7 separate regions of the Homo sapiens genome follow, and all the other regions are linked to region 2. The links are contacts of gene promoters, found by promoter capture Hi-C in blood cells and fetal thymus (Javierre and others, 2016). All regions are on one chromosome and are shown on one strand. The core of a region is centred on a gene start or on the middle of the fragment in contact, and the rest is flanking DNA. Distances in the headings are between cores, read along the strand shown. Region 1 overlaps MEGF10 (multiple EGF like domains 10). Region 2 holds the start of MARCHF3 (membrane associated ring-CH-type finger 3). Region 3 has its middle 68 kb from the start of SPMIP10. Region 4 has its middle 58 kb from the start of LMNB1-DT. Region 5 overlaps LMNB1-DT (LMNB1 divergent transcript). Region 6 overlaps LMNB1-DT (LMNB1 divergent transcript). Region 7 overlaps MEGF10 (multiple EGF like domains 10).

What was found. Contacts are between HindIII fragments. The CHiCAGO score rates a contact against its expected background, and 5 or more counts as called.
Region 1: a fragment that was not itself captured here is called in contact with the fragment with the promoter of MARCHF3 in region 2 in 1 of 17 cell types (M1 macrophages); the score reaches 5.5 in M1 macrophages.
Region 3: a fragment that was not itself captured here is called in contact with the fragment with the promoter of MARCHF3 in region 2 in 2 of 17 cell types (neutrophils and monocytes); the score reaches 13.8 in neutrophils.
Region 4: a contact is called between a fragment that was not itself captured here and the fragment with the promoter of MARCHF3 in region 2, in 1 of 17 cell types (neutrophils). The highest score is 7.8, in neutrophils.
Region 5: a fragment that was not itself captured here is called in contact with the fragment with the promoter of MARCHF3 in region 2 in 1 of 17 cell types (neutrophils); the score reaches 7.1 in neutrophils.
Region 6: a contact is called between a fragment that was not itself captured here and the fragment with the promoter of MARCHF3 in region 2, in 4 of 17 cell types (neutrophils, total B cells, naive B cells and 1 more). The highest score is 10.0, in neutrophils.
Region 7: a contact is called between a fragment that was not itself captured here and the fragment with the promoter of MARCHF3 in region 2, in 12 of 17 cell types (naive B cells, M0 macrophages, M1 macrophages and 9 more). The highest score is 14.0, in naive B cells.

What each region holds. Positions count from the first base shown.
Region 1 is chr5:127,331,076-127,335,039 of GRCh38, reverse strand. It overlaps MEGF10 (multiple EGF like domains 10), which reads right to left. Exons shown (of 25, transcript NM_001256545.2): 2 at 3,616-3,749. The coding sequence starts at 3,731. Among named protein-coding and RNA genes, the nearest start is that of MEGF10, 42 kb to the right of the region's middle. The HindIII fragment of the contact is 4,677 bases long and covers 1-3,964 here.
Region 2 is chr5:127,027,781-127,032,034 of GRCh38, reverse strand. MARCHF3 (membrane associated ring-CH-type finger 3) reads left to right here and starts at 1,477. Exons shown (of 5, transcript NM_178450.5): 1 at 1,477-1,685. LOC105379163 (a long non-coding RNA gene) reads right to left here and starts at 692. Exons shown (of 2, transcript XR_007058920.1): 1 at 1-692. RefSeq lists an enhancer at 595-1,139 and a silencer at 1,136-1,515. The HindIII fragment of the contact is 7,560 bases long and covers 1-4,254 here.
Region 3 is chr5:126,697,568-126,701,550 of GRCh38, reverse strand. No RefSeq gene overlaps it. Among named protein-coding and RNA genes, the nearest start is that of SPMIP10, 68 kb to the right of the region's middle. The HindIII fragment of the contact is 7,151 bases long and covers 1-3,983 here.
Region 4 is chr5:126,716,063-126,720,099 of GRCh38, reverse strand. No RefSeq gene overlaps it. Among named protein-coding and RNA genes, the nearest start is that of LMNB1-DT, 58 kb to the left of the region's middle. The HindIII fragment of the contact is 434 bases long and covers 1,524-1,957 here.
Region 5 is chr5:126,748,964-126,752,858 of GRCh38, reverse strand. LMNB1-DT (LMNB1 divergent transcript) reads left to right here. Exons shown (of 4, transcript NR_134485.1): 4 at 438-896. Among named protein-coding and RNA genes, the nearest start is that of LMNB1-DT, 26 kb to the left of the region's middle. RefSeq lists an enhancer at 2,646-3,571. The HindIII fragment of the contact is 8,892 bases long and covers 1-3,895 here.
Region 6 is chr5:126,766,349-126,770,332 of GRCh38, reverse strand. All of the region lies in intron 1 of LMNB1-DT (LMNB1 divergent transcript), which reads left to right. Among named protein-coding and RNA genes, the nearest start is that of LMNB1-DT, 8.1 kb to the left of the region's middle. The HindIII fragment of the contact is 6,998 bases long and covers 1-3,984 here.
Region 7 is chr5:127,314,931-127,318,711 of GRCh38, reverse strand. The region is part of intron 1 of MEGF10 (multiple EGF like domains 10); the gene reads right to left. Among named protein-coding and RNA genes, the nearest start is that of MEGF10, 26 kb to the right of the region's middle. The HindIII fragment of the contact is 776 bases long and covers 1,566-2,341 here.

The sequences.
Region 1 (3,964 bases), core at 926-3,425, 300 kb before region 2:
TTATCTGGGGAGAAACCCCAGCAAGATTTAATTTAAGGTCAAAGAACCAGGGAGTGGGGGAGGAGATGGAGAATAAGGGGAGGAAGACATTATCACTTGGGCACGTTCCAAAGTGGTTAATTACATTTTACCTGCCTAAATTATCTTGTTACTTTAATCAGATATGGTAATAATCTTCATTTCTTATCTCTGCTTGCTTCAGGACTGCTGATTCAATTACTCTCCCTTCTGTGTTAGTAATTGAAGGTTTGGTCAAAGTGTGGTTTCTCTTCACTTGTGCCTTCTTTAGAAGAAACCCCACTGAATGGAAAAGCTCAAATTCATAGAATACAGAAAGAAGGTTAGGAGAAGGAATAGATAATTTCTAGAGTTATTCATTTTCCAAAAAGACACTGTACAGAGTTCCTTTAATCATAAACACCCCTTGAGTATTTTAAATGATTTCATTTTCTTTAATTTCATTTTATGTACAATTTCTTAGAATCACAATCGCTGCATTAAAACAAGGCACATCTCTATTTCAAAATAAATATTCAGATATCAATTGGGATGCAGCTAGAAGCCATTGATGGAAGTATTTTTGTTTAGTGCTTCTCAAACTTGAATATGCAGACAAACCTCCCTGGGATCTTGTTAAAATGCAGATTTTGATTTAGTAGGTCTGGGGTGGGACCTGAGAGTCTGTATTTCTAACAAGTTCATGCCTCAGCTCTGCAAACCACAGTCTGAGAAGTAACCTCCAGGTGATTGCATGGTTCTGAGCCATTGGGTACAGGTGGTTTTGAGCATAAGAAGAGCTTAAAATGAGCCCTACTACCAGAATTATGCCCTTGGAGCTCATCTTCCTCTCCCCATTTCAGTTCAAGCCCATTTACATTTTTGAAAATACTAGACGAACCTGTCACCTGTGCCTTTATTTGATCATTTTAATTTATCTTCTATACTGGTCCCCATTCTTATCAAAACAATTCTACTTTCTTTTACCTTTCTTCTAGAAATCATTATCTAGCCTTACAACAGAAAATTTATCAGTAAGAAGATTATAGCTGTCAACTCTTCTTCCTGGCAGTACATTTAAAAAAACTGGAAGTTTTTTTCATCATTTTCCTATTTGTTCACATTCAATTTCCCTCCCCCTTCATGAGCATTTTAGAGTTTGCACTAATCACTTGCACAGTTGTTGGGTTCTATTAGGTTTAGAGATTAATGTGCCCCTTGTCTATCTGTCTTTCTCACTCTCCATGCCCCTCCCACATTGATGTACATATTTAGTCATTTCGTTTCCTATCAGAAGATGAACTCACTCATTCAACAATTTATTAAACACATGCCACATGCAAGGCAGTGTTTTAGACAGTGGGAATTATCAGTGGTGAGCCAGACAATGCACTTATGCATTGGCAGCTCTGGTCAACTGCTGACCAGGGAAGCAGGACAAAATGTGTATTTATAAGTGGGTGCCGGATTATTTGAAGCCTTGAAATGGTTTTCTCTCTCTCTCTTTTTTTATTTTTATTTTTATTTTTTTTGAGGCAGGGTCCGCTCTGTCACCCAGGCTGGAGTGCAGTGGCATGATCTCAGCTCACTACAGCCTCCACCTCCTGAGTTCAAGTGATTCTTGTGCCTCAGCCCCCCAAGTAGCTGGATTACAGGCATGCACCACCACACTTGGCTTTTTGTATTTTTAGTAAAGATGGGGCTTTGCCATGTTGGCCAGGCTGGTCTCAAAATCCTGGCCTCAAGTGATCTATCTGCCTTGGCCTCCCAATGTGCTGGGATTACAGGCTTGAGCCACCGCACCCAACCTTTTTTTCTCTTATAGTCTTTCCCTCAGAGAGTTCCTCTGTTCACATCTCACATCTCATCATGCTGGATATTCCCAAATCTATATTCCCAAATACTTCCAGGCCCATATTTTAAACTGATTTTATAAACACAACATGGCAAACCCACACTAACCCCTTCCCTTTCAAATCAAATCTCTTTCTTTTATTTTTCCATATGCGCAATGTCATCTGGATTACTTCACACAGCAAGTTCTAAATCCTCGTCTTCTCTGCCTCCTTCACTTCCTCAGTCAATGTATTATCAAGATCTGTTGATTCTTATTTCACAACATCTCACAAACTTGACTTTTCCTCCCATCCCAAATCTATCATCCCTCCAAGAAGTTCAACTACCAATGGTCTCTTCCTTTACTAAATTTGACCTGTACCCATTGATGTAGCCAATGATTCATGACTTTAATAAGTATTTATTATATATTTTATTGATGAAATGCCTTATGGGAGGTGCTGTAAATATTATAAAGAGCACTAATAGGAAGTCCTTCTGCTTAAATTCTGTATAATGTAGTTAATACCACAAATATATAGAACTTTATTATATACATATATTCTCTCTGCAGCTTAAAGTTTCATAATAATATATAACTCCATTGACTAATCAGGTAATTATGTTTTAATTACCCTGCTTGTAACACTACCAATGGAGGTAGGGATAAGCCCTTACCAAAAATAATACTGAGTGAGAAACCAGCATGTCCCCAGAATAATACCACTGCTGTGCTTGAGAGGCTCTGGGCTTTATGCATCCTAACAGTGGGGAACAAAGGTGATTAGAATGTGTGCTCTGTGGTTTGCTAATCATGGTGCTGAAGATCAAGAGTTTGATATAATTGTACTTACAGCTATTAAAAATACATATTACCCTCCAGTACTTAACATCTTCTCTTTGTTTAAAACACTTGCATTTACAGTTTTTGGATAAGATAATTTCTGGGAAATTCAAGTAGCACATTAGAGCAGAGCCAACTGGACTTGATTGTACTGCAATATCGCTGGATGGGTTTGCACTATTTTTGTGTTCCAAAAGGGACTATAAAGTCCCAGAGGATGATCTACTGTTTTGTACTTTCTACTGCAAATTGCTCATATCTAGACATTACATCATCTGCCTTCACATAACCACACCCTCCTCCAATACGGTACTAACTCTGCTCTGGTTGTGCACAGTTCTCGGTGGTCCACATGGCACTGATTTCAAACTGCCAAACTGACTCCCCTTCCAAGATCCCCTTCCAATCATTGCAACCCACTCATCTTATTCAGTTCTTCAAGAGCATCTCAGGGGACACTACCTCTATGCAGCCTTGCCAGTTTACACCAAATTTAGGTCTCCGTTTTCAAGCCATCTACAGCAAAATTCTTTTAAATCCCATATATTTCAATACTTTAGTATATTATCTCATGCTGCTTTCCACTTCTCACTCATGGGTTCCCATGCATAAGTCCAGCTCCCCAAAATTAATGCAAATTCAAATCAGAGACAAGACATTAGGAAGATCTTTTAATTGTGCTATTAATGTCTTCCCTGAATCTTACAATTGCACCTGCATTAGAATTAGATATATCAAGACTTTTTTCACATAATATATATGCTATAAGACCAAGGTGACTAACACCACCTAATTTGCTAGCTATGACTAATGATTTTTACATAAAAGTAATTTCACAATCTCTTCACAAATTCTAATTTTATACATCTGACTGATAATTACAGTATATAAGGGAACTTCTCAGCAATTCTTTGTCAGGCTCCTTTCAAAACCATTACCTTTCCCAGTGGCTACACACATTAGGGTCTTCAAGATTCAGAGGTGATGCTGTCCCAATCCAGTGGCATAACAATAAACAAATAAAGCTCAGGCATGAGTTCAAAGAAATAACCATTTTTTTCTGAAGAACAACCTACAAGAAAGAAAAAATCCCAATTAGAAATGCATTGAAATGACTCACACAGAATTCTTTTCAGTACAGCAACCACCAGGTACCAGTTGTCAGTGGGGCTGAAATGTGCATAACAAGCCATGTATTTCAATAGCCAGGTCACCAAATTCCATGGTCCAGGAGAGAGGGGTGTTTCTTATGTTGTGCAAGGTGGCTACTATTTTGTAAATTACTAA
Region 2 (4,254 bases), core at 228-2,727:
ACACCTTGCAGCTCCCTTACATGTGAATAATTGCCCATACTGAGAGACTAAAACCCTTAGGACTTCTGGGACCTGAATGAGGCAATGGTCTGAAGTGGGCTTGCGCTGGAAGCAAGACGTAAGTGGTGAAGGTGAGTATCAGGGCAGCAGGTTGACCCCTTTCTTGTTATGAGCATGCATTCCTTCATTCTTACTAATACGGGTTAGGTGCCTACCCATGGCAAGAGCAGTTCTAGGCAGGGAGAGGCCCCTACCCACCCACAGCTGACGGTCTAGGGCTTGTTTACATTCTAGGTTTCAGCGGGAAAGCAAGAACACCCAACTCCCTGCTTTTGATTCTATGTTAGTAGCTCAGCGCGCCTGTGCGAGCACGTGCTGCAGCCAGGGTAGGGGCTCAGAAACTGGTTGACAAGATGAGCAGTGGGGTCCTAGGGGGTTGGGCGGGAAGGGCCCACAAGGCCATATTCCAGGCTGTTCGGCTGCGAGTGACCCCTGAGAGGTCGGGATCTCCGAGCTCGTCCGATGTCTCCATCCCAGCCAGGAGCTTGCGAAGGGGAAGGAGGGCGGAAGCAGAGTGGGACAGATGTGGTTCGTTCTGGGGCTTCCTGTCCACGAAGATGGATAATTCTAGCGACCCGCCTGGGATTTTGGAATCCTGGCGGACCCAAAAGACAGCAGAAGTCACCGCAGAGGATGCCACCCCGCACGGCAGCCCGCCCAGAGCGACGGTCTCACAGGTTCCGGCGCCGTCGAGCGCCCAAGCCTCCTGTTGGCCGCCAGCTGTGTCCGCGACGCGCTGGGTCGGGAGGAGGAGACCCGAGGCGCCGGTAAGTCCCCCGCTGCAGGTGGCCCGGAGGGCAGGGGTGAGGACGGGGACGTGTACTGAACTTTGGGAGGTTTGCGGGGCTGGAGTTTTGTTTCAGAGATAGCCAGATCGAGATCAGAACGTTTTCCAGAGAGCCCAGGTTTCCACTTGTGGCTGGGCGACCCGGTCCGGAATTCATCCTTTCTCGGCCCTCAGCTTCCTCCGGGCGGGGTTCCGATGGGGCAGCTAAGTTCCGCGCCTCCTGCCGGTGCCAGATACTGGCGTGTCGACCCGCGCTGCGGTTGGCTTCTTGCTCCACAGCGCTATGCGCGCGGCGGCTCCGAGGGCTCCTGGTCTCTCTCAGCCAACGGCCTTCTGGGGCCGCCGCCTCCCTCTAGAGCTGCTCGGGTCCCATTGCAGAGAGTCCCGCAGCGCCCGCCGGCAGCCACGGCACTTCGCAATAACCAACTTCCCCGCCGCCGGCGCGTCCCGCCAGCCTGCCCTCGGCCGCAGGCGACTGGACGGCGGTTACGGGGCGGTCCCAGCGCCACCACGACTGGCTGTCGGCTCCGCCAGTCATGGGCTGATGACGCCCCGGGGCTGGCTCCGCCCCTAGCGGCAGCCCCGCCTCCCCTCCAGAGCCTGGTCGGCTTAGCCCTGCTTTCCGCCTCACTCGTTGAGCAGGTCCGTGAATTGTCAGCGCGCTGTGGGCGACTGTGTGGCCGCGGCGGCCGCCAGGCTTGCCGCACTCCCCCTGAGGTGCCCGCCGGAACCAATGTGCCCTGGTCCACTGGGCCGTGAGCAGCCACCGACTGGGGGCAACTTGGCACTTAGAACCGCAGCAGGGACGTCGGTTTGCTATCGGGACTCGGCGAGGACGGTGAGTGGCCGCGCGCCGGGCTAGCGGCTCCTCTCGGCGCGGTTCGGCGGCGGCGAGAGGGGACGGGACGCGTCCTGGCGCTCGGCGGTCCGTTCGTCCGAGCGTGACCGCTGTGGGGAGGTCAGGGCTGGGCGGGATTTACTCCGTGCCAATATCCCCACTCCCGAACTTCTTCTTGTCAAAGCATCCCAACTCCGCCCGGGACGCGGTTCCAGTCCGCACCAACTTGGCGTAATTGACATGGGTAGGTGGGGCCGGGACGCGTCCCCTGCCCCTCTGCGGCAACGACATGGAGCGCTGGGGCGGCCTCCGCGCCCGCGGCGTGCGGACCGCGGTTCCTGAAAAATTACCCGCGCTGTGCGGTACGGTAAGACCCGGCGTCCGCGTCTGGATCTCAAGGCTGAGCGAGCGCTCATCGGGCTCAAGGTGGGTCTCAGCGCCAGAGAACTGGAGTACCAGCCGGGTTCTGTAGCGGGGGCTTCAGTGCTCTGCAGCTACTGAGAGGAATTGAGAGCACTGCTGGGCTTTGAACTTTCTAAAGTAATTGCTTTCTATTAGCACTTGAATCCATGACCCTCCTGAGGTGCTCGGACCTCCACATCCACCCGCAAGGGGTGTCCGAAGGACTTCGTTAGGACCAGGCGGGAGCTGCTGTCGGTTCTGGTGCCCAGTGCCTTGGAGAATCCTAGAGGCTGCGAAAGGGATTGCCAGCCTGGTCGGTTGGTGTTTGTTTGAGCACCTGCGTGTTTAAGTGATGAAGTTGAGTCAGGAATTGACAGCAGAGAACTCAAGGTTAAACCTGACACTCCGTTTGTGACTCGGTCTGGGTTAGATTGTTTTCCCCCCTTAATGGTAAGGGGGTAAAAGCAGCTTGTTTTTCTGAGACCAACTACATGCATGTAGTTTATATTATGTGCGGAATAAACAGAATTCAATACGATATTTTCTTACAATTCTTATTTGACATGAATAAGAGCTTTTGAAAATACTAGACAGAAACAGGTCCAGAATTTGGGGATGTTTAGACCTTTGAAAATACATGAAAATGTTGAGATATATAGTTCTGTATGTGTATATGAAGATGTAGATGCGCATATACACACATACATACGTGTATATGTGTGAGTGTGTGTATATATAAAATTAAAAGGTGAATGAGGTAAATATATGAAGGGGAAATTCAGCCTTGAACTTCCCTTGGGTCACAGAGATGGATCCTCTGAGCTGTGGGGTGTTAGTGAGTGTGTATGCGTAAGCATGTCTGCATCTGCCTGGTCTGTCTGGGTCAGAGTATGTCCATGAACTTTACGAGCGTTCAGTTCAATACCACTCAGTGCAGAATCCGCGTTCCTGTTTTACAGCCCAGCAGCCGCCAGCCGGCCCATCTGTTAAAACATAACATGTACACTTCAGTCCGACCACTGGGGTGGAGCCTGGGTAGGGGGCAACTCTTAGCAGAAACAACATGCTACAAACAAAGCCTGCCTCTCAAGTTCTATTTTCATTCAATATTTGGCCTGAACTTGAAGTTTTGGTGAGGGAGAAGGAAGTGTTTGTCTCTAGAAATGGCAAACTGCATTTTGTGAAATAATTATAGCCACGGCTTGGGGAGGGGGAGCTTGTAGGAGAGAAAAAAAAATCCCTCCAGAAATGTGGTGCTTGTCACATCACCATGCAACACGGGTTTACAGCTTTGCAGTATGGCATGTATATCAGAAACTGTTTGCTTTTGCTTGTTAAAATAATGCATTAAAACTGAATCATTTTGCACCAAAAAAAAAAAAAAACCTACCTTAATAGAAGTAAACAGAGCTTTATTGCAGAGGCTATAATTAAGACTGCCTTGGTATTTCTAATGAAACATACTTTTAGGAATTTATAACCTGGACATATATTCATAGTCAGTCTAATCACTAGTTGCAATGATTCACAATTTATAGTTTTAAAATAATAAAAAGGCTTTATCACAAAAATTCTGATGACTAAAAGGGTATGGGAGGAGTATAATAGCTTAATAAGTTCTTGCAGCCAAGTGACTGATACTTTAAAAAACAATAAATTCCTTTAATAGCACAATTACTTTAGTGACAAAATAAAGGCAGTATTTTTGAGAAGCATAGTTCATATTTTTCCCAATAATTTTATGCTCATAATTACATTTCAATAATGGTGTTCATTATATATGGGCGGAATAAACTGAATGGTTTTTAAGGGCTTATCACAAGAAGTATTGTTTTCAATTTTATGGTATATAAACATTTTGGGGAAAACATGCAAAACACTAATCTGTGAGTGTCTTTAAATTTCTAATGGACAATGTAGACATAATAATTTTCCCACCTTGATATGAATCATCCAAATTAACTAGGCTGTTTCTTAGAAATTCAGTTCTTGGGCAGGACTTCAGTCCCAGGGTTTCAATTTAGGAGTCTGGGATGGACCTTAGGAATCTGCATTTTCACAGGCACCCGCAAGTGATTCTGATGCCAGGGATCCCTTCACTGTACTTTGAGAAACACTGGAATTGTGTTAATGACATAAAAGAACAGTTATAGTCTGTGAGTTGATT
Region 3 (3,983 bases), core at 1,057-3,556, 330 kb after region 2:
CCACTGCACTCCAGCCTGGCGACAGAGTGAGACTCCATCTCAAAACAACACCACCACCACCACCACCACCAGCCTGGATGCAGGCCTTACATATGTGGGAACTTAATATATCATAGAAGTGGTCTTACAAACTACTGGTCTATTTAGTATATGTGGTGGACAATGAGAGAAAAATATTCCAGAGGTTGAGATCATGGGCTTTAGAGCAAATCTACCAAAGATTGACAGCTGACTCTGCTGCTTAATAGCTGCATTACTTCAGGCAAGTTACTTAACATATTTGTGCCTCTGGTTTTTTTGTGTATGTGTATTATTGTTTTTCAGACAGGGTCTCTCTCTGTCACTCAGGCCAGAAGGCAGTGGCGCAATCTCAGCTCACTGTAACCTCCGCCTCCCGGGTTCAAGTGATTCTCATGCATCAGCCCCCCCGAGTAGGTGGGATTACAGGCATGTGCCACCATGTCTAGCTAATTTTTGTATTTTTCATAGAGACAGGGTCTTACCGTGTTGGCCAGGCTGGTCTCGAACTCCTGTCCTCAAGCAGTCGCCCACCTTGGGCTCCCAAAGTGCTGGGAGAACAGGCCTGAGCCACTGCACCTGGCCTGTTTCTCTATTTTTTTTTTTAACCTATAAGCAAGGATAATGTTATTATTTCCTCATGAAGTTGTGAGAATGTAATGGGTTAAAACAGGTAAATCATTTTAAACAGTGCACTCACGCAGTACACACAATAAATATTTACTATCTTTATTAGCTCTCTGTATCTCTATGTGAGATCCCTATCTCAAACCCTATATAAAATATATTTCAGGTAGTTACTAGAGCTAAATAAGCAGTTTATATGTTAAAATTTTTAGAAGAAAATTGGCTGGGCATGGTGGCTCATGCCTGTAATCCCAGCACTTTGGGAGGCCAAGGAGGGCGGATCTCTTGAGGTCTGGAGTTCGAGACCAGCCTAGCCAACATGGTGAAACCCCGTCTCTACTGAAAATACAAAAATTAGCCAGGCATGTTTGCACGCGCCTGTAGTCCCAGCTACCCTACTTGGGAGGCTGAGGCAGGAGGATCACTTGAACCTGGGAGGTGGAGGTTGCAGTGAGCTGAGATTGCACCATTGCACTCCAGTCTGAACAACAGAGCGAGACATCATCTGAAAGAAAGAAAGAAAGAAAGAAAGAAAGAAAGAAAGAAAGAAAGAAAGAAAGAGAGAGAGAGAGAGAGAGAGAGAGAGAGAAAGAAAGAAAGAAAGAAAGAAAGAAAGAAAGAAAGAAAGAAAGAAAGAAAAAGAAAGAGAAAGAAAAGGAAAGGAAAGAAAGAAAAGAAAGAAAGAAAAAATATAGAAGCAAATCTGGGGCTGTGCGGGGTGGATCATGCTTGTAATCCCAGCACTTTGGGAGGCAGAGGCAGGTGGATCACCTGAGTCCAGAGTTTGAGACTAGCCTGGCCAACATGGTGAAACCCCATCTCTACTAAAAATACAAAAATTAGCCAGGCATGGTGGCCGGCACCTGTAAATCCCAGCTACTCAGGAGGCTGAGGCAGAAGAATCACTTGAACCCAGGAGGCGAAGGTTGCAGTGAGCCGAGATTTTGCCATTGCACTCCAGTCTGAACCACAAGAGTGAAACTCCATCTAAAACAAAACAAAACAAAACAAAACAAAACAGCATATCTTTATGACATGTAGGCAGGAAAGGATCTTAAAACCTTAAAGAAGGCACAAAATACAAAGAAAGATAATGAAAAAGTTGAGTTAGTTTTAAAATTCAGCTCAATAGAAAGAATCAAATATAAACTTAAAAGACAAACCACGGACTTGAAGAAAGTGTTGCAATACACCTTTTTTTTTTTTTTTTTTTTTTTTTTTTGAGTTTCGCTCTTGTTGCCCAGGCTGGAGTGCAAAGGTGAGATCTCGGCTTACCACAACCTCTGCCTCCTGGGTTCAAGTAATTCTCCTGCCTCAGCCTCCCAAGTAGCTGGGATTATAGGCATGTGCCACTACACCAAGCTAATTTTGTATTTTTAATAGAGATAGGGTTTCTCCATGTTGGTCAGGCTGGTCTCGAACTCCCGACCCCAGGTGACCTGCCCTCCTTGGCCTCCCAAAGTGCTGGGATTACAGCCGTGAGCCACCATGCCTGGCCAATACATCTTATAGATAAAGGATTAATATCCGGAATATTTATATTGATAAACAGTGATAAAAAAAAGGCAAAAGATGAACAAATAATGAGAACAAGGAATTGTCAGGAGGCAAAACTTGAATGGCCAGTGCAGATATGAAAAATGCTCACCCTCATTAGCGTTTGGGGAAGTGTATTTTAAATCCACAAGAATTCTACAACTTACTGACAAACCACTGCTACAGAGTGCAAGTTTGTATGGTCTTTGCAAAAAAACTACTTATTTAAAACAACAACAAAACACACATATACACGTATACCATTCCACATCAATCAGATGGGCATGTGTTATATAACACTAAGCATTGGTGGAGATGTGGGACATGGAAATTCTAGACAAAACTTTGCAGAATGCAGGTGAGGCACGGTGGCTCACGCCTGTAATCCTAGCACTTTGGGAGGCCGAGGTGCAGATCATGAGGTCAGGAGTTTGAGACCAGTCTGGCCAACATAGTGAAATCCCATCTCTACTAAAAAAATACAAAAATTAGCTAGGTGTGGTGGCAAGGGCCTGTAATCCCAGCTACTCAGGAGGCTGAAGCACGAGAATTGCTTGAACCTGGGAGGCGGAAGCTGCAGTGAGCCAAGATCGTGCCACTGTAAAGCCTGGGTGACAGAGCAAGACTTGATCTGAAAACAAAACAAAACAAAACAAAACAAAACAAAACAGACTTTCCAGAATGCTTTCCCAGCCAAGCGTAGTAGCTCACACCTGTAATCCCAGCACTTTGGGAGGCTGAAGCAGGAGGATGGCTTGAGCCCAGGAGTTTGAGACCAGCCTGGGCAACATAGGGAGACTCTATCTCTACAAAAACAACCAAACAAAACAAACCTCAAAAACACCCAGAATGCTACCCCATCTATAAATGTCAATTTAAATAATGTCCCTAGTTTAATTTTAAGACTGCATACAGGGAAAATCTCAATTTCTCAAATGGTGCTTTAAAGCTACTAAGCCATTTTCATAATTTCCAACAAAGCCCAATGACCTATCTCATAAATCAGCTGATTTTTCCAAAAGAACCACAATATTATGCTCTCTAGTAGAAAGTGACCATTTTATCTTTCATCAGAGAACAGACAGAAACTTTAGAGTCACAATTCAAAGTTGTTTTCCTTATACCAAACAGACCAAAAAATAAAAGAGGTGTCTCGGTATTGCAGAAGAGCACATAATAATAATTAAAACATATTAATTGCTACATGAAATGAATAAAAGAAATTGCTTTTGGATGCCCATCCAAACAATACTTTATCCACAGAGCCCGGGTGGTTGCTATGATTTTAATGTATGTGTCCCTCCAAAATTCATATGTTAGAACCTAATACCCAATGTGATAGAATTATGAGGTGGCACCCTTTTGGGAAGTGATTAAGTCATGAGCTCTCCACCATCATGAATGGGATTAGTGCTGTGATAAAAGAGGTTTAAGGGAGCTCCCTAGTTCCTTCATTTTTTCTTTTTCTTTTTTTTTTTTTTTTTTTGAGATGGGGTCTCTGTCTGTTGCCCAAGCTGGAATGCACTGGCGTGATCTCAGCTCCATTCAACCTCCACCTCCCAGGTTGAGGTGATTCTCCTGCCTCAGCCTCCCGAGTAGCTGGGATTACAGGTGCCCAACACCACATCAAGCTAATTTTTGTATTTTTAGTAGAGATGGGGTTTCACCCTGTTGGCCAGGCTGGTCTTGAACTCCTGACCTCAGGTGATCCGCCTGCCTCGGCCTCCCAAAGTGCTGGGATTACAGGCATGAGCCACCATGCCCAGCCCCTAGATCCTTTTGCCCTTCTGCCATGTGGACAC
Region 4 (4,037 bases), core at 491-2,990, 310 kb after region 2:
GGCGTGAGCCACCATGCCCGGCTTAAAGTTTTAATAAATATGCTTTGTTCTGCAAATGTGGAAGAAGCATAAAAATTATAGGCATTTTTTATTTTCACTTAAAACTTAGATTCAATTTCCAAGTGTCTTTAATCTTTGAATTCTGAAGACTTAATGGATTCTTAAGAAAATATAGTATTGAGTTTAAAGACTAATTTTTGAAGACTGTCAGGAAAATTACTGTCTTTTTTTTTTTTGAGACGAAGTTTCACTCTTGTTGCCCAGGCTGGAGTGCAATGGCACGATCTCAGCTCACGCCAACCTCCGTCTCCTGGGTTTGAGCTATTCTCCTGCCTCAGCCTCCCAAGTAGCTGGGATCACAGGCATGCGCCACCACACCCAGCTAATTTTTGTAGTTTTAGTAGAGATGGGGTTTCGCCATGTTGACCAGGTTGGTCTCAAACTCCTGACCTCAGGTGATCTACCTGCCTCAGCCTCCCAAAGTGCTGGGATTACAGGCCTGAGCCACCATGCCTGGCCAGGAAATTACTTTTATTATCACAAAGACTAAGCCTTAAAATATAAAATTACAATTCACTTTTTAGTCTTTAAGAGTTCGAAAAAAGATTAACATTAAAGCAAGTGTTAGTGATGTTTAGAAAAATTTATAGAATGTTTCAAAGCACTAAGTTGTTGCCCTGTTGTCTAAGTTTGGCTTAGGTAAGCACTTGCAACCTCAGAAATCAATGCTATGTACAAAAAGCATTAGATCTAAGATGACAGTGCTTGGAATTAACAGTGCTTGGATGTTCTTACAAATAAGTGAGTTTCTGCAGTTTGGTTTTTTTTTAAAAACATATTTGGGTAATTAAAAAAATTTTACCATTAATTCAGCTGAAATTAGTTTGTTAGCCCAAAACAAATTACTTCATACTTCATCATTCTTTGGAACTGAAAATGTTCTAAATCACATTTGGACTCGAGCTGGTTGTAATCTTATCCAACATGTAATGCTAAAAAGGGAAGAATAAGAAATATTTTCAGCCAACTTTGGTGGTTATATACCTGAAATATTTCTTTGTTTTTTTTTTAGGTAATGAAATGAGTTTTTTAAAAAACTGAATAATAAGAATAAAAGTAATGGCATAAAGTAGTCACCTTGTAAAGACACTGTTTCACTCACCAGCGTGCAGATGGACAAGGCGGTATCTAGGACTGGCCCTTCCTATCCTCCTTACCTGGAGGCCAGGGTCCTGGGTGGAATTTCTGAACGTAGAATTTGCAGAGCTTGGCAGTGTTTTGTGAAATGTGAGCTGAGAAGTAAATGTGGCCCTCCTCCATCCTTTCCTGCCCTTATGTTCTGCTTTCTACTGATAGCCCAACCCAGTTGTGATTGCAATGGAAGGTGTCTTCCCCCATAGCCCTGCTCAGTGGGAGATGGCACCCAGCTTCTGTCTGGCCCAGTCTTGTTCTGGTGAGAGCTATCAGGCTAGGGAGGGCCAGGTGAGTACGAAGAGCTGCCGGGTAGGGAGGTGGAAAAAGCTTTGCTGGGAAAGGGGGTTGCCGTTTCTGATAGACAAGCAATGTGTGGTATGCTAACCGCTCTGTGAGTGGGATAGGGGAGAGTCGCCAGACAAGGACAATTAGCAAGGCACCTCAGCGGAGCAGTGAACCGCCCTCTCATACATGGAGACTGAACAGCCTCTGGGAGCTGACCTCCACTGACAGGAGGCTTCCTTGTTCCTGACCAACACCGATGCTCTTTCTCTGCTCATGTCTTCCTGTGTGGTCTCTCCTCTCTTTCTCTTCTTAGCGACAGTGGAATGTTAATTTGGTCTGGGAGAGCAGGAAATACTGTAAATGTGTATCTGAATATCCCTGTCTTCATCTAGACCAGTGCCTTTCTAATTCCAACATACCAGTAATGGAATCCTTCCCCTAAGCAAAGGATAACTCATCTCTAGCTTACTTTGAAGCTTTCTACAACTAATTAATTGACTTTAGAGAGAATGGCCGTGAATAACCTGTAATTAATAAAAAACCAGGCTGGGCCCGGTGGCTCACGCCTGTAATCCCAACACTTTGGGAGGCTGAGGCAGGCGCATCACCTGAGGTTGGGAGTTCGAGACCAGCCTGCCCATCATAGTGAAACCCTGTCTCTACTAAAAATACAAAATTAGCCAGGCATGGTGGTGGGCACCTGTAATCCCTGCGACTTGGGAGGCTGAGGCAGGAGAATCGCTTGAACCCAAAGAAGCCAAGGTTGCAGTGAGCCAAGATCACGCCACTGCACTCCAGCCTGGGCAACAGAGCTGTCTCAAAAACAAAACAAAACAAACAAAACCCAACAAACTAAAATTATTTACCATGAAAAGGAAATAAGCTGGGCACAGTGGCCCACGCCTGTAATCCCAGAACTTTGGGAGGCTGAGGCAGGCAGATCACGAGGTCAGGAGATCAAGACGATCCTGGCCAATATGGTGAAACCCCATCTCTACTAAAAGTACAAAAATTGGCCAGGTGCAGTGGCTCATGCCTGTAATCCCAGCACTTTGGGAGGATGAGGTGGGCGGATCACCTGAGGTGAGGAGTTCAAGACCAGTCTGACCAACATGGAGAAACCCCTTCTCTGCTCAAAATACAAAATTAGCCGGGCGTGTTGGCACATGCCTGTAATCCCAGCTACTCGGGAAGCTGAGGCAGGAGAATCGCTTGAACCCGGGAAGCGGAGGTTGTGGTGAGCCGAGATCGTGCCATTGCACTCCAGTCTGGGCAACAAGAGCGAAACTCTGTCTCAAAAATAAATAAATAAATAAGTAAATACATACATACATACATACAAATACAAATACAAATACAAAAATCAGCTGGACATGGTGGCGCGTGCCTGTAGTCCCAGCTACTCGACAGGTGAGGCAGGAGAATCGCTTGAACCCAGAAGGCAGAGGTTGCAGTGAGCAGAGATCGCACCATTGCACTCCAGCCTGCCGACAGAGTGAGACTCCGTCTCGAAAAAAAGAAAAAAGAAAGGGAGATAAAAACCAAACCAAAACCAAAACGAAAAACTAAAATTATTTATAAGGGTAGTTCCTTTAGGTTCTATACTTCAGTACGATGAAGGAATACCCATAAAAATGAAAGTAACACATTTATAATTAAGTATGTTACAAAATATCTGCAATACTTGGGGAAAATGTTAGTTAAGTGTGGTTAATGTTTATCTCTATCTGTTTTAATTCCTATTAGTGGAATGAAGTTGTTCGAGTGTCACCAATGGGCCCATGCTAGCAAATGTAATAATGGCTCCTTTCCTGTTTTCTTGGCAGTATTTAACTAGTTGGCTATACATTCTTTTTTTTTTCCTATAACCTCATATTAGAAGTGATCACTCTCATTTTGTTTCTTTTTTCCAAAAATTATATACACACACAGTGTAGAGTCAAAAAATTCCATAGTTTGTTATAAAGAAAAATCCCAGCTGCTCCTCACCATCCCAACCAGTCACCCCGCCTACATCCCACTTCAATTTCCCATTTCCCAGATCAATGCTTTTAACTACTTTTGCTCATTCTTTTGATACTTACCATGTCTCTAAATAATATGCTTATAATACCACTTCTTGAATTTCCCCTTTTGGGTGTTATCTAGTGATTTCACAGTATGGGAGATGAAGAATTAATATGGGCTCTTACACACACACACACACACACAGACACACACACACTGGCCTTGGTATACAAGTCTATTTTTCATTCCCTTTGTCTCAAAATAAAGTTACCTGTAAAAGTAATTACAAAAATATTCAGCAGCCAGCCGCAGTGGCTCACGCCTGTAATCCCAGCACTTTGGGAAGCCAAGGTAGGTGGACTGCTTGAGGTCACAAGTTTGAGACCAGCCTGGCCAACGTGGTAAAACCCCATATCTACCAAAAATGCAAAAATTAGCTGGGCTTGGTGGCGTGTGCCTGTAATCCCAATTACTTGGGAGGCTGAGGCAAGAGAATTGCTTGGACCTGGGAGGCAGAGGTTGCAGTGAGCCAAGATCGTGCCATTGCACTT
Region 5 (3,895 bases), core at 728-3,227, 280 kb after region 2:
CCCTCCCCCCTCCCCCCACCCCACAACAGTCCCCAGAGTGTGATGTTCCCCTTCCTGTGTCCATGTGTTCTCACTGTTCAATTCCCACCTATGAGTGAGAACATGCGGTGTTTGGTTTTTTGTCCTTGCGATAGTTTACTGAGAATGATGATTTCCAATTTCATTCATGTCCCTACAAAGGACATGAACTCATCATTTTTTATGGCTGCATAGTATTCCATGGTGTATATGTGCCACATTTTCTTAAAGCTGATGTGTTTTAAATTATTTGAAGGTAAGTTAACACAATGTTTTAGAAAATCACTTAAGGACTCTGGGGGAAATATGAGGTCTGTTAACTTAAATGTTTTTTTTTTTTGTCCTGGGTAGTTTTTGTGGGGTTTTTTTGTTTTTTGTTTTTTTGTTTTTAAGTAAAAATACGTTATACTTCCTTTCAGAATTCCATCATCACTTGGGAGATTTCTGCGAATCATCACTAAAGCCATTCACTTTCTCATAACTAAACAAGAATCTTCTTCTGGAGTTAAGTATCAGATATGAATGTTCTCACTGACCTCAGGAAGCAAAAGTCCTAAATCATTATATGGCAGTGAAGGTACAAAAAAAAAAAAAAATCAGCAGGAAATAAAGCGGAACTGCTGCCAACACATACAAGCTGCAGTAGCACCCACAAAATGTGTAGTATCTATTCTAACACATTCATTGGACTGATTACATTGGCTCATAGACTTGGTTAACTCTGGAAGAACATAATAGGTGTTTATTGTTTACTATGGGGATGGGAAACATAATTAAGTCTATAGTCTCCAATTCTTCTCAAGTTCAAATGAAACCAACACTTTTGGTTTTGTCTTAACATTCAGGATGTGTTTCTAATTAAACTGAAATCACAGTAAGCACCTCCACTTTCTTTCTTGGGATCTCTATCATGAAAATTAATTGTGTGATTTTCCCCTCCCACCCAACCCCGCTTCTTCTGGAAAAAGCTATATTTACACTTGCTATACCTGAAAATCCCCATTTGGGGCAGAGTAGGCATTATGGCATTTGTCTGATCTCTGGTGTGCCCAAAAAGAAATCGCCTGAAACTGGGGGCATATTAAGAATGCAAATGGTGATTTGGGTTAGAGTTCCAACCTGTAGCTAACTAGAACATCCTTTCATTGACTTCTACTCTCTCAATTAGTGTTTTGTTTTTTTTTTTGGTTTTTTTTTTTTGAGACGGAGTCTTGCTCTGCCGGCAGGCTGGAGTGATGCAGCACGATCTTGGCTCACTGCAACCTCCGACTTCCTGGTTCAAGTGATTCTCCTGCCTCAGCCTCCCAAGTAGCTGGGATTACAGGCACGTGCCACCACGCCCAGATAATTTTTGTATTTTTAGCAGAGACAGGGTTTCACTATGTTGGCCAGGATTGTCTTGAACTCCTGACCTCGTGATCCGCCTGCCTTGAGCCTCTCAAAGTGCTGGGATTATAGGTGTGAGCCACTGCGCCCGGCCTTTTTTTTTTTTTTTTTTTTTTTTGAGATGGAGTCTCGCTCTGTTGCCCAGGCTGGAGTGCAGTGGCTTGATCTCGGCTCACTGCAACCTCCAACTCCCGAGTTCAAGCAATTATCTTGCCTCAACCTCTCCAGTAGCTGGGATTACATGTGCCTGCCACAGGGTTTCACCATGTTGGACCAGGTTGGTCTCGAACTCCTGGCCTCAGATTATCTGCCCGCCTCGGTCTCCCAAAGTGCTGGGATTACAAGCATGAGTCACTGGGCCTGGCCTAGTGTTCTTTATCACTCAAATAATTGTTAGACGATCTTAAGAGAACTCCTAGTCCTACGTTTTTGTGAGGATGTCTTATAAGACCACACATTTCCTGGTCTAAATGCAAATTTCAAACATCTCTTAGAGGTTTTTTCGTTAAGTTCAGTGAGTGAGTCTTATTGTTACCTACAGGTAGTTGGATAGGCAGGAGCCAGACAGGAGAGGGCTCTCCCCCACCCACTAAGCCTATCAGCAATTACGGCATTGCCTCTCCGAGTGCGATAATTCGGCAGCGCCAGGGAAAAGGCATTTCCTGAGGGTCCACACCTGTTAATATGAAATGTTAATTGAATGCAAGCCTCAGGGAGAAGAAACTTCCTGGGCATGCATATTAAGAGGCAAAAATGGCGAATTATGATCTTCCAGGTAAACTCCACCGGCAAAAGGAAGAAAGCCTCAGATAGGCATGCTTATGACTCCCTAAACACACTGCGCTGTGCTCAATTCCAAAGGGTAAGGAGGGCACTGTGCAGGCGGGCAGCCCACCCTAAGGGAAGAATCATGGGAAAGAGGTGAGCTTATACAAGTCCTAGTATCACCGGGCGCGGTGGTTCATGCCTGTAATCACACCGCTGCACTCCAGCCTGGTGACAGAGGGAGACTCCGTCTCAAAAAAAAAGTCCTAGTATCACAGTTAAATGGGGCACTTGACTCTCCCTTTTTGTTCTTTGGGTCTCTTCCAAGTGTGCTTTCCTTCTTTCCTATTCTAAAGCCGTTTTAAACAAACTTCTATTCCTGCTCCGAAACTTGTCTCGCTCCTTATGCCCTTCAGTAGAATTCTTTCTTCTGAGAAGGCAAGAACCAAAGTTGCTGCGTACCTATACAGATGTAAGGCTGGATAGGTGGCTGGTAACTCAGGGTGGCTCTGATCTCTTCCGCTGGTAACATTATTGTCAGCGGAAACTGACAATTCCCGCCACACTGAGTGAGTCCTCCAGCACCAGAACCCTGACCAATTCACCTTTGCATCCCTAGTGCCTAGCATCATTCCTGCTATTAGGAAGTTCAATAAATATTTATCAAATAAGCATATCATTTATCTTCCCTACTAGACTTTTCTTCTCAGAGAGATTAAGAGCCACGTGGACTTAAACTTTAGATTGGACACAGGTCTGACAAATTAGATGCACAGGGAAAGGACTTAAAACATTTATTTAGGGCCGGGCGCGGTGGCTCACGCCTTTAATCCCAGCACTTTGGGAGGCCGAGGCAGGTGGATCACGAGGTCAGGAGATCGAGACTATCCTGGCCAACACGGTGAAACCCCGTCTCCACTAAAAAAAAAAATACAAAAAATTAGCCGGGCATGGTGGCGGGCGCCTGTAGTCCCAGCTACTTGGGAGGCTGAGGCAGGAGAATGGCGTGAACCCGGGAGGCGGAGCTTGCAGTGAGCCGAGATCGCCCCACTGCACTCCAGCCTGGGCGACAAGGCAAGACTCCATCTCAAAACAAAAAAAAATTTTTTTTATTTAACATATATTTGTCAAATTAAATAAAAAGTAGTATGTTAAGAAAAAACAAAGATATTTCAAATACAGAGTCTACAGTGAAGTTGTGGAGACTGAACAAGGAATATATTTTTTAAAACAACCAGGGTGGGCCTGGTGGCTTATGCCTGTAATTCCGACACTTTGGGTGGCTGAGGTGGGTGGATTGCTTGAGCTCAAGAATTTTGGCAATATAGAAAGACCGCGTATCTATAAAAAATCAAAATAAATTTTAAAAAAGAAAAAAGCCAGGCGCGGTGGCTCAGGCCTGTAATCCCAACACTTTGGGGGGCCAAAGCGGGCAGATCACGAGGTCAGGAGTTCGAGACCAGCCTGGCCAACATGGTGAAACCCCGTCTCTACTAAAGATACAAAAAATTAGCGGAGCGTGGTGGTGCGCACCTGTAATCCCAGGTACTCGGGAGACTGAGGCAGAATTGCTTGTACCCGATAGGCAGAGGTTGCAGTGAGCCAAGACTACACCATTGCACTCCAGCCTGGGCCACAGGGCGAGACTCCGTCTCAAAAAGGAAGAAAGAAAGAACGAATGTAAAGAAAGACTGAAAGAGAAAGAAAGAAAGGAGAGAGGGAGGGA
Region 6 (3,984 bases), core at 1,384-3,883, 260 kb after region 2:
CTTGAACCCAGGAGGCAGAGGCTGCAGTGGGGCCGGGATCATGCCACTATACTCAACCTGGGCAACAAGAGCAAAACTCTGTCTCAAAAAAAAAAAAAAAAAAAGTCATATTTATTTGCTCACTCATTAATCCGTGCATTTATTCAACAAACATTTGTTGAACACTTACTACATGCCAAGCAAGGAATGTCTAAGGTACATGATCCCTGCTTGGAGAAGCTCAACGGTCCAGCTATGGGCAGGCAAACATGTATATAATAAATTATGCCTCAAAATGTCAAGTACTAAACAGGCATGAACAAAGCGGTGTAGGCATGTTAAGGATGGAGCAAGTTTCTGTGTGCAGGAGGAGGGAGCAGACAAGATGATCTCTAAGCTGGGCTTCTGAGAATATCAGCCTTCAGGGACTGGCAAAAGGACTCAAAACCTTGTGGAGGGCTGTAAATGGCAACCCACAGCCCCCAGGGAGAATTAGAGGGAAACCCCAGACAGAATCTCTAATTCCTTATGGTGTGCTTTTTATTTCAAACCACACCAAGCAGGAGGTGGTTTAAACTAGGAATTTGTAAAGTGGTAAGAGAAGTGTATTTTAGTCAATAATCTTAACTTAGGTCTGGCTTACACTAGTCAAGAAAAATGGAAAATTGAGAAAATTACCATATAATTTTTAAAAAGCATATAATTTACTTAAGCTGTCATAACAGTTATGCCTTGCCTAAAGGCCGGACGTGGTGGCTCTCACCTGTAATCCCAGCACTTTGGGAGGCCGAGGAGGGTGGATCACGAGGTCAGGAGATTGAGACCATCTTGGCCAACACGGTGAAACCCCATTTTTACTAAAATTACAAAAAACTAGCTGGGCGTGGTGGCGGGTGCCTGTAGTCCCAGCTACTCGGGAGGCTGAGGCAGGAGAATGGCGTGAACCTGGGAGGCAGAGCTTGCAGTGAGCCGAGATCGTGCCACTGCACTCCAGCCTGGGCAACAGAGTGAGACTCCGTCTCAAAAAAAAAAAAAAAAAAAACAACAGTTGTACCTTGCCTAAAGCAAAACAAAAACAGAAAAACCAATGAAGCAAGAAATGCTAGAGTACCTCCTATGTGCAAGACACTCCACTGGATGACTGAATTTTGTTTTGTTTTGTTTCAAATTTGAAAAGAAATGAGATCTTACCATGTTGCCCAGGGTGGTCTCTAACTCCTGGGCTCAGGCAATCCTCCACCTTGGCCTCCCAAAGTGCTGGGATAACAGACATGAGCCACCATGCCTGGCCTAGGAGTTTTTTGTTTTGTTTGTTTGTTTGTTTTTAAGTATAAGATATAGTTCCTTCCTTCAGTGAAGGCACTGTATTGTTTGTGTGTGTGTGTGTGTGTGTGTGTGGAAATAAAATGTTTACATGTGATTAAATAGGGTAAGCAATGATGCCATAAATTATGAAGGCCCAAAGAACTGACATTGATGACAAGTGTCAAATCACTGAAACTGCTAAATTTTTTTTTTTTTTTTAAGACAGAGTTTGGCTCTGTTGCCCAGGCTGGAGTGCAATGGTGCGATCTCCGCTCACTACAAGCTCCGCCTCCCGGGTTCACGCCATTCTCCTGCCTCAGCCTCCCGAGTAGCTGCGACTACAGGCGCCCGCCACCACACCTGGCTAATTTTTTGTGCTTTTTAGTAGAGACGGTGTTTCACCGTGTTAGCCAGGATGGTCTTGATCTCCTGACCTTGTGATCCGCCTGCCTCGGCCTCCCAAAGTGCTGGGATTACAGGCGTGAGCCACCGCGCCCGGCTGAAACTGCTAAAATTTAAAGAAGGAATCACTTCAGTTCAGGACAACATGATAGAACATCCTGCAAGAGGACCATTTGAACTGGACATGGAAGTAGGGGAAGATGCATTCAGTTAATGATTTGAATTACACAAATTAGCTTTATAAGTTTTTCAGGAATAAAACTATCACATAAAATGAGATGACTATCTTTTGTATGAAATATTGTATTTGTGTATGTTGAGAATTTATATTGGTAACTGGGCAAGAATTATCCAGGATTTGGTTGCCCACATACTTGGAATTTAATGCTACAAAATACATTCTGTTAAAGTCTCTGAAAAGAGATGACACTGAAAAGTAAATAGGGACCTCTCCAATTTACATACAGAGTACAGGAGCAACTGAAACTTTTATATACTATTGATGGGAGTGTAAAATAGTACAACCACTTCAGAAATTGTTTGACAGTTCTCCAGCCTGACCAACGTGGTGAAACCCCATCTCTACTAAAATTTAACAACAACAACAACAACAAATTAGCCAGGCATGGTGGCGGGTGCCTGTAATCTCAGCTACTGGGGTGGCTGAGGTAGGAGAATCTCTTTTTTTTTTTTTTTTTTTTTTTTTTTTTGAGACGGAGTCTTGCTCTGTCGCCTAGGCTGGAGTGCAGTGGCGCAATCTCTGCTCACTGCAAGCTCTGCTTCCGGGGTTGACGCCGTTCTCCTGCCTCAGCCTCCCAAGTAGCTGGGACGACAGGTGCCTGCCACCACACCCGGCTAATTTTTTTGTATTTTTAGTAGAGATGGGGTTTCACCGTGTTAGCCAGGATGGTCTCAATCTCCTGACCTCGTGATCCACCCACCTCGGCCTCCCAAAGTGCTCGGATTACAGGCGTGAGCCACCGCGCCCGGCAGGAATCTCTTGAACCCAGGAGGCAGAGGTTGCAGTGAGCCGAGATCATGGTACTGCACTCCAGCCTGGGCAATACAGCCAGACTCAAAAAAGAAAGAGAAAGAAAGAAAGACAGACAGAGAGAAGAGAGAGAAAGAGGGAGGGAAGAAGGAAGGAAGGAAGGAGAAAGAGAGAGAAAGAAAGTTGTTTAACAGTTCTTTATAAAGGTAAAAATGGGTCCTATAGTCCAGCAATTCCACTCCCAAGACAAATGAAAGCATATGTACACTAAAAGACTTGAACAAGAAGTTTATAGTAGCTTTACTCATAGTAGCTGAAGGGGTTCAGAACATGCCACCCCAGAATGTCGCTTTTGGCATATTGATTATTTTGAGCTGAAGCCAATTGGGAATTACAGCAGATGTAGAAAAGACTCTGCCAGGCACAGTGGCTCACGCCTGTAATCCCAGCACTTTGGGAGGCCAAGGGGGGGGGTGTGGATCACCTGAGGTCAGGAGTTCAAGACCAGCCTGGGCAACATGGTGAAACCCCATCTCTACTAAAAATACAAAAATTCGCTTGGCATGGTGGCAGGCACCTGTAATCCCAGCTACTCGGGAGGCTGAGGCAGGAGAACTGCTTGAACCTGGGAGATGGAGGTTGCAATGTGAGATCGCACCACTGCACTCCTGCCTGGGCAGTGGAGTGCGACTCCATCTCAAAGAAAAAGAAAAGAAAGGACATTTATATAAACTCTCAGTCCTAACCACTTCTTCGGTCTGTTTTTTCTTATGAAGCCTCTGGTACAATTAAAAATATTAAGTAAAATTTGTATACTTTTATCCTATTGAAATGTCTCAGGTTGGCCGGACGCGGTGGCTCACGCCTGTAATCCCAGTAATTTGGGAGGCTAAGGCGGGTGGATCACAAGGTCAGGAGTTCAAGACCAGCCTGGCCAACATGGTGAAACCCTGTCTCTACTAAAAATCCACAAATTAGCCGGGTGTGGTGATGGGCGCCTGTAATCCCAGCTACTGAGGAGGCTGAGGCAGAGAAGTGCTTGAACCCGGGAGGCAGAAGTTGCAGTGAGCCAAGATCACGCCACAAAGAAATGTATCAGGTCAGTTTAATTCTCAGGCCCAGCCATAGAAGCTAAGAGTAGGGGAAAGTTTGTACTCCCTACACAGCCAAAACTGAAAAAGATCCAAATGTTCATCAACAGGAGAATAGAAAAATGGATTGTGGTATAAGTACTATTTAGCAATTTTAAAAAAAGGAATGGCAGGTACACCAACCACATGGTTGAATCTCATAAACATTATATTGAG
Region 7 (3,781 bases), core at 704-3,203, 290 kb before region 2:
TTTGATCTGCTTATTGGCAGTGTTTTTCATTAACCTATTTTTTTTATGTTTAAGTCAATTTTTCAATGGCAAGATTGTTGGAGAGTTCTCATCTCTTACTTCATGCATTTTTAAGCTTTGTATATTCTAGGATGATTTTACAAGTTTTTAAAGCATATCATCTGGCTACTTCATCTGCTTTTCAAAGTTCTTGTAGATGCATTTTTAGCCAGTGATGCCAACCATGGCTACTTGGTATGTTCCCATGATTTAAAACTGTTTATCATTTTTTATCTTAGCAAAAACTTCTATCAGGGATGAGGAAATGGCCACTTTTTTGGTTGGATATTCCTGAAAACATCATCAAGTTTTTATCCCTCAGTTTGACTTTTTACTGTAAAGATACAATGGGTGTGTTAGGTCAGGCTGCTACAACCTAGTGCCATAAACCGGGTGCCTTAAAAACAGCAGAAATTTATTTCTCACAGTTCTGGAGGCTGGAAGTCCAGAATCAAGGCGCTGGCAGATTCAGTGTCTGGGGAGGGGCTGCTTCCTGATTCATAGATGGTACCTTCTCCTTGTGTTCTCACATGGTGCAAGGCGCAAGGCAGCACTCTGAGGTCTCTTTTATAAGGGCACTAATCATATTTACTGATCCCATTACTGAGAGCAAAGTTTCAAAACCAATGTCAAGAAACACTAACTTTGACTAGTTTTTCAGTTTGATCAGTTCATCCTTTTTACCAATCAACTCAATTCCTCCTCCACACTGTCACCAATGCTTTAAAAACACAAGTCAGAACATCACACTCCCCCCTCACTTTTTTTTTATTACACTTTAAGTTCTAGGGGGTACATGTGCACAACATGCAAGTTTGTTACATATGTATACATGTACCATGTTGGTTTGCTGCACCCATTAACTCATCATTTATATTAGGTATTTCTCCTAATGCTATCCCTCCCCCATGACAGGGGACACATGACAGGCCCTGGTGTGTGATGCTCCCCACCCTGTGTCCAAGTGTTCTCATTGTTCAATTCCCACCTATGAGTGAGAACACGGGGTGTTTGGTTTTCTGTCCTTGTGATAGTTTGCTCAGAATGATGGTTTCCAGCTTCATCCATGTCCCTGCAAAGCACATGAACTCATCCTTTTTTATGGCTGCATAGTATTCCGTGGTGTGTACGTGCCACATTTTCTATGTAGAAAGCTGAAACTGGATCCCTTCCTTACACCTTATAAAAAAATTAATTCAAGATGGATTAAATGTTAGACCTAAAACCATAAAAACCCTAGAAGAAAACCTAGGCAATGCCATTCAGGACATAGGCATGGGCACAGACTTCATGACTAAAACACCAAAAGCAATGGCAACAAAAGCCAAAATTGACAAATGGGATCTAATTAAACTAAAGAGCTTCTGCACAGCAAAAGAAACTACCATCAGAGCGGACACGCAGAATGGGAGAAAATTTTTGCAATCTACCCATCTGACAAAGGGCTAATATCCAGAATCTACAAAGAACTTTAACAAATTTACAAGAAAAAAACAAACAACCCCACACTCCCCTTCTTAAAAGCTTTTGAGAGCTTGCCTTTTAGGTAAAATTCAAACTGGCATTTAAGACTCAAGATATCTGAGTCCAGCCTCATCACTCAACAAACTCATGTATATGTCGCTTGAACAATTCTCAGGTACTTGATTTTCCCCAAACATTAGAGGTTTTCACTCCTCTGTCTTCGCCCATGCTGTTCCTTCTTGGAATGCCCTTAACTATCTGCTCAACTTAATTCTCACTCATTCTTTAAGGATCAACTGTCACTTTCTTTTAGAAGAGCTCCCTGGCTAACCTTGTCATTCTTCTTCTTTGCTCCTGTAACACCCTGAAACATCCCAAGAGTAGCTGATGTGTTCTTCGTCAGAGTAGTAACACACACCACACCGCTCATCTCTCCACTAGCTACCAGACTCCTTAATGTCAGAATGGTACACTGTTCATCTCTACATGTTCTTGGTATTCTTGAATGAATGTATGGCCCACAGGAAAAATAAAGCTCAGAATATGCAAATCACTTGTTCTGGAACCCTGAAATCATTATTCTTAATATTTAAAAGGCAGAAATGGAAGGTCAAGATTATCATTTAATTGCTAATATACAACTGCAGTGGAAAATCCTAGAGTTGAAACAAAATGATTGCAATACCAGTGATTACAAATATGAAAAAACACTGAAAGTTTTGTTTGGGGGATATTTGTTTTAATTAGAGATAAAAAATATGTAGTCTCTGAAAAGAACGTATGGGCACTTTCAATGGCTTAATTAATAGTTAATCATTCTGTAAATTCATTTAAAGCTTAAGGCTTTCTACTCATTAGCCTTCCTGTATTGTCAATAATTGGACCTGCTCAAACATGGCTGCATTGGTGATGATTCTTGCAGGCATGGTATTCATATCAGCTGAGGGCAAGGTGAGGTGACTATGAGCAAACATTTGACAGCAGCAAGGGAGCATCCAGGAGGGGCTGGGAGTCAAGCAGCAGAAGCCAGCAGGAAGTAATAAAGCAAGATAAGGAGGCAGAGCAAAGGTGCAATGGCACCAAACTTATATGGCAGACTTTTGTTGCACTAAAGCGTCTTCTGAAGTGTTGCATCTCCATTGATAAAAAGCACAATTCCTGGGGCCTGCCTGTGGGCCTGGTACAGGGACCCATTTCAGCAAACTTCACCAGAAAGAACAATGTGTGGGAATATACCCTAGGATGAACCTTCAGTAATTAGCAGATTGCTACGGTCTACAGCAACTGAAAGACTGCTCTGCTTCAACATGTTCTTAGAGTGTTAGATTAGCACACTTTAGAAAATAAAAAGATTTTTATTACAAAGTGATTCAAAATATATGCTTGAAATATAGACAGAAAGAAAAAGGGTTATTTTGTTTTGGTTTGTTTTTTTAAGACAGGGTCTCACTCTGTCACCCAGGCTGGAGTGCAGTGACACAATCACAGCTCACTGCTGCCTCAACCTCCCAAACTGAATGGATCCTCTCACCTCAGCCTCCTGAGTAGCTGGGACTACACATGCATTCCAACACACCTGGCTAATTTTTGTATTTTTGTAGAGACGGGTCTCATCATATTGCCCATGCTGGTCTTGAACTCCTGGGCTCAAGCAATTCACCTCTATCAGCCTCCAAAAGTTCTGGGATTACAGCCATGGGCCACCACGCCCGGCAAGATTCATATATTTTTAAGTTTTAATTTTGAGAAGGAATTAAGATCTGTGATGGTCTTTGATGAAGGTCACATTGTGATTATAAATTTTAAAATATATTAATGGACCCCAAATGTACATAAGTGTTTGTATATTACCTAAATAAGGCAAGAATTTCCTTTATGCACAGGTGGGCATAAATGCACACCAAGTATAATGTTAAAAATAAATACATAAATAAACTGGAACATTAATATCAAGATAATTACAGTTTTTATGGGGAAAAAACCTTTAATTTTAAGCAGGTTCTGATAACTCTTTAAGGGCAATTTGAACTAAGGAAGCTAAAGGTTTTTGAACTAACACTGAGTTCTGAACTCAGCAGGGCCACAAGCTTTGCAATCTCTGACATTTTCCTTAATCTCTTCTGTTCTTGTCCTCATCAAATGTCATTTCCCTGTTGCCTTTATTATAAATTCTCTCCCTCAGCTCCTTTTTTTTAAGATTCAAAGTCTTTAATAGCAGTATCTTCATTTTACTGCAAATATTGGAAACAACAGCAGCCAAAAGCACTTAAAATTAAGT